2 separate regions of the Homo sapiens genome follow, and region 2 is linked to region 1. Evidence: promoter capture Hi-C in human tissues and cell types (Jung and others, 2019). All regions are on one chromosome and are shown on one strand. Each heading gives the region's core, a stretch centred on a gene start or on the middle of the fragment in contact. The rest is flanking DNA. Distances are from core to core; before and after follow the strand shown.

Evidence for each region. Contacts are between HindIII fragments. The study calls those that stand out against the background at their distance.
Region 2: a contact is called between a fragment that was not itself captured here and the fragment with the promoter of DPPA2 in region 1, in 3 of the 25 tissues and cell types used here (psoas muscle, spleen and stomach).

What each region holds. Positions count from the first base shown.
Region 1 is chr3:109,314,855-109,318,111 of GRCh38, reverse strand. DPPA2 (developmental pluripotency associated 2) reads left to right here and starts at 1,595. Exons shown (of 9, transcript NM_138815.4): 1 at 1,595-1,828. The HindIII fragment of the contact is 15,346 bases long and covers 1-3,257 here.
Region 2 is chr3:109,278,284-109,281,540 of GRCh38, reverse strand. No RefSeq gene overlaps it. Among named protein-coding and RNA genes, the nearest start is that of DPPA2, 37 kb to the left of the region's middle. The HindIII fragment of the contact is 9,547 bases long and covers 1-3,257 here.

The sequences.
Region 1 (3,257 bases), core at 346-2,845:
TGTTGGCCGGCTGGTCTCAAACTCCTGACATCAGGTAATCCACCTGCCTTGGCCTCCCAAAGTGCTGGGATTACAGGCGTGAGCCACGGTGCCCAGCCAGATAATTGGAGTTTTGAATACTGCTGGATATTTGAACATAACATATATTTGAATACTTTGATAATATTAAATAATGATTTTTTAAATTATGTTTAGATGTAAAAAGGATATCGTAGTTATAATAGGAACGAAGTATTTTTTCCCCCTGGATTTATTTATTTATTTATTGAGACAGCCTCACTGCAGCCTCGGGCTCCTGGGCTGAAGGGATCCTCTGACCTCAGCCCCCTGAGTAGCTAGGACCACAGGCATGTCTCACCACACCCACACGCCCGGTTATTTTATTTTTATTTTCATTTTTATTTTTTTGGTAACAATGAGATCTCACTATCTTGCCGAGGCTGGTCTCATACTCTTGGGCTCAACTGTTCCTGCCACCTCGGCCTCCTGACGTGCTGAGATTACAGGTGTGAGCCATGGCACCGGCCTTTTCCCTGAATTTATGAACGAAATCATAGGCGATCTGGCACTTGTTTCAAAATAACCCATGGAGGAGGAATGGACGGCAATTTAGATGTAACCAGACTGGCTGTAAGTAAATTACTATGACAAAAAGTAGACACACTTTTGTACATGTTTGAACCTTCCCATAATAAAACATTCTCAAAAAGCTGGGGAAAAAACCCCAGGAAAACAAATAAGATTTTTTTTTTTTTTTTTTTGGGGGGACAGAGTCTCTCTCTGTCGCCCAGGCTGGAGTGCAGTGGCGTGATCTTGGCTCACTGCAATCTCCACCTCCTGGGTTCAAGCGATTCTCGTGCCTCAGACTCCCGAGTAGCTAGGGAGTCTGTTCCCTGTTTGTATTGACTACTTCCACGACTGGTAAGCTCTTCCTCAAAAAGTGTAATCTTCTCTAAAGTTTCCCTAAGCTATTCCAATATAGATTCTTCCCATAGATTTTCATAGATTTTCTTACTTTTTTTTTTTTTTTGAGACGGAGTTTCGCTCTTGTTGCCCAGGCTGGAGTGCAATGGCGCAATCTCGGCTCACCGCAACCTCCGCCTCCCGGGTTCAAGCGATTGTTCTGCCTCAGTCTCCCTAGTAGCTCGGATTACAGGCATGTGCCACCATGCCCGGCGAATTTTTGTATTTTTAGTAGAGACGGGGTTTCGCCATGTTAGCCAGACTGGTCTTGAACTCCTGACCTCAGGTGATCCGCCCGCCTCCGCCTCCCAAAGTGCTGGGATTACAGACGTGAGCCACCGCGCCCGGCCTAAAATGATTATATTGTAAAAAATGCAATGAAGAAAAGAAAACATGGTAATGAAATGGTCTTCCCACTCGAAATCCTGTCCCTACCTAAGGCATTAGGATCAACTCAGGCCATTAGGTCAGCTTTCCTCTAAATTGCCCATTCAAAGCACCAGGGGCCACACCCAACCGGGTAGGCGGAGTGCTTTCCTGGCTGCATCTTAGAGGGCTGCATTCAGGTTCCACCCTGGAAGGGAGGAGCCGGAATTCCGATCATTATCTGCCGCGGACTGCCTGTCTCCAAAGCCCTTTGTTTATGGCCTGATCTAGCTAAGGCTTCTAGACTTCAGGAGCTTAAGAATCGTCCGGAGGGCTGGGCGTGGCGGTGCAGGCCTGTAGTCCCACCCACTCCGAAGGCTGCGGAGGGAGGATCAACTTGAGTCTGGGAACTCAGCCAGGAATTCAAGACCAGCCTGGGCAACACAGTGAGGCCCCCTACCCACATCCTCTCCGTCCCCGCAATCTCCTTCCATCCCAGGTCTCCTCTCTACAAAAAATTTAAATATTAGCGGGGCGTGGTGGCGCGGGCCTGTAATCCCAACTACTGGAGTGTGGGGGGAGGGGCGGGGGTGGGACGGCATGGGCTGTAGTGGGAAGATCGCTTGAGTCCAGGAGGTCGAGGCTGCAGTGAGCTATGATCGCGCCACCGCACTCCAGCCTGGGCGTCAGAGCCTGTCTAAAAAAAGAAAAAAAGAAAAAATTACCTGGAGGGCTTGTGGAAGCACAGATTCCTCAGCCCCTCAGCCTCACCCTCCATGATCTGATTCAGGATGTCTTGGGTGGTGGGGTGGGGCCTCATAATTTATTTTTCCAATCAGTTCCTCAGTAAACTGAAGCTGAGCTTTTTCAGACTACATTTTTTTCTTTTGTAAATTTATTTATTTATTTATTTATTCATAGAGATGAGGTCTCACTATATTGCCCAGGCTGGTCTCGAACTTCTGGACTCAAGTGGTCGTCCTTCCTCGGCCTCCCAAAGGCCTCCCAAAGGATTACAGACATGAGCCACCGTGCCAGGTCCAGACAATATTTTGAATGTGTTAAATACACTAGTAACTTAAATGGACCATGGTCACCCTGGGTCCTGAGATTAATGGACCAAATCATTTTCCCAGGGACAGAAAAAGCCCATTGTAAAGGTACTTGGTTGTCCAGTGCTGCCATATTATTGGTGAATGAAATTTCCTTTAGTTGCTCTGGCTTCTTAGAGTGACCTATGAGAACACCTGCTTCATATTTTGCCACATTCCGTGTCCAACATTAGGCTCCAGCAATTCCTAAGTGCATCGTTCCTTCTGCCTTCGTTACTCCACCACTTGCCTTGGTGTTTTGGCTCTTGTTGCTATTCTGAACAGCCAAATCCTTCTCCTCCAACCAGCTCAATATTATTGCAGGCTTAATATTTGTATTTAGAACTAGATCGAAGAGAGATTATGTTATCCAACCCCCACAATTTAAATCTGGAATCTTTCAGTGAGTAACATACCCCCGTGCATAAATCAGGTATAAAATACCTGCGTAAAATGCTCTGAATCTTTTTTCCATTCCCTTCGTAATAAGTAATTTGTTACCAATATCGTCTTATAACTGTTCTAAAACATTCTGTTCATTCCATTGGAACTTGTCAACAAGTGTTTGTCATTTTCAGTTTTCTTTCAAGTTTCACCTATTTTTTTTTCTTCTTTCTTTCCTTCTTTCACTTGTTGAGACAGAGTCTCGCGAAGCTGGAGTGCAGTGGTGCGATCTCGGATCGCTGTAACCTGCGCCTCCTGGGCTCAAGCAGTCCTCCCACCAACCCCTCCCGAGTAGGTGGGATTACAGGCGCTCGCCACAACGCCCGCCTAATTTTTGTGTTTTTTTGTAGAAATGGGGGTCTCGCCATGTTTCCCAGGCTGATCTCGAACTCC
Region 2 (3,257 bases), core at 430-2,929, 37 kb after region 1:
ACCCACAGATAAGTATGGTATCAGAGTTGTGATATTATTAATCTGTAATACTAAGTGGCTGGACACAGTGGCTCATGCCTGTAATCCTAGCACTTTGGGAGGCTGAGGCGGGAGGATCACCTGAGGTCAGGAGTCTGAGACAAGCCTGGCCAACATGGTGAAACCCTGTCTCTACTAAAAATAGAAAAATTAACTGGGTGGTGGCTCATGCCTGTAATCCCAGCTACTCAGGAGGCTGAGGCAGGAGAATCACTTGAACGCAGGTGGCAGAGGTCGCGGTGAGCTGAGACCGTGCCACTGCACTCCAGGCTGGGCTGCAGAGCAAGACTCCATCTCAAAAAAAGAAATAAATAAATAAATACTAAGCATGCACTAATCAGAGAAGGAGATTAACAACTTGGAAATATACTGACCTTCTGCTATTTATTGTCTATTGTATGGAGGCAGATTAGTGACTATATGGCCAATACTATAAATTGTAGAACATTTCTTTTTTTTTTTTTTTTTAAGAGATGGGATCTTGCTATGTTGACCAGGCTGGTCTGAAACTCCTGGCCCCAAGTGATCCTCCCATCTTGGCCTCCCAAAGTGCTGGGATTACAGGCATGAGCCACCACACCTGGCTATAAATTGTATAACATTTCTTGAAAGTGATTTTAGATATTTTTTTAAAGGAGGCTTTCTAAAAAATCCTCAGACACTTTTATGTTAGTGAAATGTATTTTCTGAATCTGTAACTATAACCACTATTCCATAAAGTTAAGGTTTATTCCTATATTTTAAAGTTGGACTTGTCTTTCAAGTGAAACAATGGTAGATGAGGTAAAAAAACAACACACGGTTGTCTACTTGCTGCATTATATCTATTTATTCATTTTTATCACTGCATTTAAATGTGTTTTATTGGGACATCTCAAGAGCCTTTTCCAGCTTTGCTATTGGATTAAGATTGAGCATGCTTAGCAGATAGTAGTTATTCAGTCAACATTTCTTCAATGAATGAATAAATAGCTTACACATAAAAAGCATGAGTGGTGTTTAAGAGGGGCTAGATTTCTCAGTCTTATTTTTTTCCCCACAGATATGACTAACAGTGAAAGAAGGAGGTATCATGAAGCTGAGCAATGAAATGTAGTGGTTCATAGAATTCCCACAGCTTACTAAATTTCAAAAAGACAAAACTCTTATTCCTTTTTTTCTTCAGCCTCTCTTATTTTATTTTTGAATGTTATTTATTTATGTATTTATGTTTTTGGGGACGGAGTTTCACTCTTGTTGATGAGGCTGGAGTGCAATGGCGCGATCTCGGCTCACTGCAACCACCACCTCCGGGGTTCAAGCGATTCTCCTGCCTCAGCCTCCTGAGTAGCTGGGATTACAGGTGTCCACAACCACACCGGGCTAATTTTTTGTATTTTTAGTAGAGACGGGGTTTCACCGTGTTGGCCAGGCTGGTCTCAAACTCCTGACGTCAGGTGATTCACCTGCCTCAGCCTCCCAAAGTGCTGGGATTACAGGCGTGAGCCACTGACCCCGGCCTCAGCCTCCCTTATTTTAAAGGTATAGTGAAGAGAATACTGATGTTGCAGTTAAACAGAGCCATCGTCAAGTCCTGGCTTTATCACTTACCAGCTTTGAGAAAGCAGGGGCGCTCCTCACGCTCCCTCAGCCTGTTTCCTCAACAGGGGTGTTTCTTATCAGATTGGGCCGTTGTTTTGTGAGAGAATGTCTATAAAACTTGCAGAAAACAGATCCTTAATAAATGGCAGCTATTATTGTGATTCTCAGTAGTTCTCAGTAAAACGTGTAGAAAAGGAAAGACAAACTACACCAATGTAAGGCAGGAACCTTGAAAAGTTAGGAAGCGCTGATGGCAGGAACTGAGACAGTACTTTGTCTCATCTCTCCAGTAGTAATTTCCTCCAAAATGTCCTGACTGTCAAATAAATAATCTTTAGCATTTACCTCATTTAACTCTCCTACTTGAAACCTCTTTACCTCTTTCTGACAATGTCTTAATAGGAAGTTCATGTCTGTTCTTAATGTGATGCTATTCTTTTTTTCAGATTTCCCAATGCAAAATCTCTGCTCCCGCTGACACTGGTGAACTTGTTCTCATTCACATCTAGGCTTTACTTACAGCTGTTCTTCCCACCTTGCCCTGTCCTCTCACTCACCTTTCCCTGCCCCATATCCCATAAAAGGATCAAATGGCAAAGCCCTCCCACAGAAGAGTTGAGAGCTACACTTCTTGTTTTCTGAATTATCGTATATGCCTTTTGTTGCAATTTAACTTTACATTAGAAGTATCATTTGTCTTTTCAATAAGAGTGTTTCGGCCGGGCACAGTGGTCACTCCTGTAATCCTAGCACTTTGGGAGGCCAAGGCGGGTGGATCACCTGACGTCAGGAGTTCAAGACCAGCCTGCCAACATGGTGAAACCCTGTCTCTACTAAAAGTACAAGAATTAGCTGGGCATGGTGGTGGGCACCTGTAATCCCAGTTACTGGGGAGGCTGAGGCAGGAGAATCACTTGAACTTGGGGGGCGGAGGTTGCAGTGAGCTGAGATCGTACTGTTGCAGTGAGCCGAGATCGTACCATTGCATTCTAGCCTGAACAACAAGAGTGAGATTCTGTCTCAAAAAAAAAAAAAAAAAAAAAAAAGAGTGTTTCCTCAAGGCTGTATTTGTACTGTTATATTTCTTGGCATCCAACCAAGATGCTAGTATCTTTAATTCATGTTCCTTAGTGAATTCTACAAAAGGAATCTGTGGGTCCAATTACCCCTTCACTGATAATTTTAATAATGCATCTAAAGAATTAGGGCTTTCTTTTCCAAAAACCACATGGGTCTGTGGTTCCCTCAGCTATTTCCACCTTAAAGTACAATTTTCTCCACCATAAATAATTCTATTTTAGGAACACCCTCTGAAAGTAGAGCAAGTGGCTTTCAGGTTATGTAAGCTACCTGAAATTTAGGGATAGCATACTTTTTATATTCCAAATTTCCATCTACAAGCAAGGACAGGTTGCTTAAAGCAATGGTACAACCCCAATGTAAATTAATCGTGTTTTTTTCCCTTCCTAATCCTACGACCTGATGTCTCTTGACTTTTTAAGTAGAACTATTCAGACACATGTATTCCTATCCTTGTTTAATTTTTTTGGCTTGAAAAATTGGCTCAAGTAAAGCCAAGATTCCATTCTTACACTTCATTCTCTTAGTCCCCTAGGACTGTGTAGTCAATTAAGCTA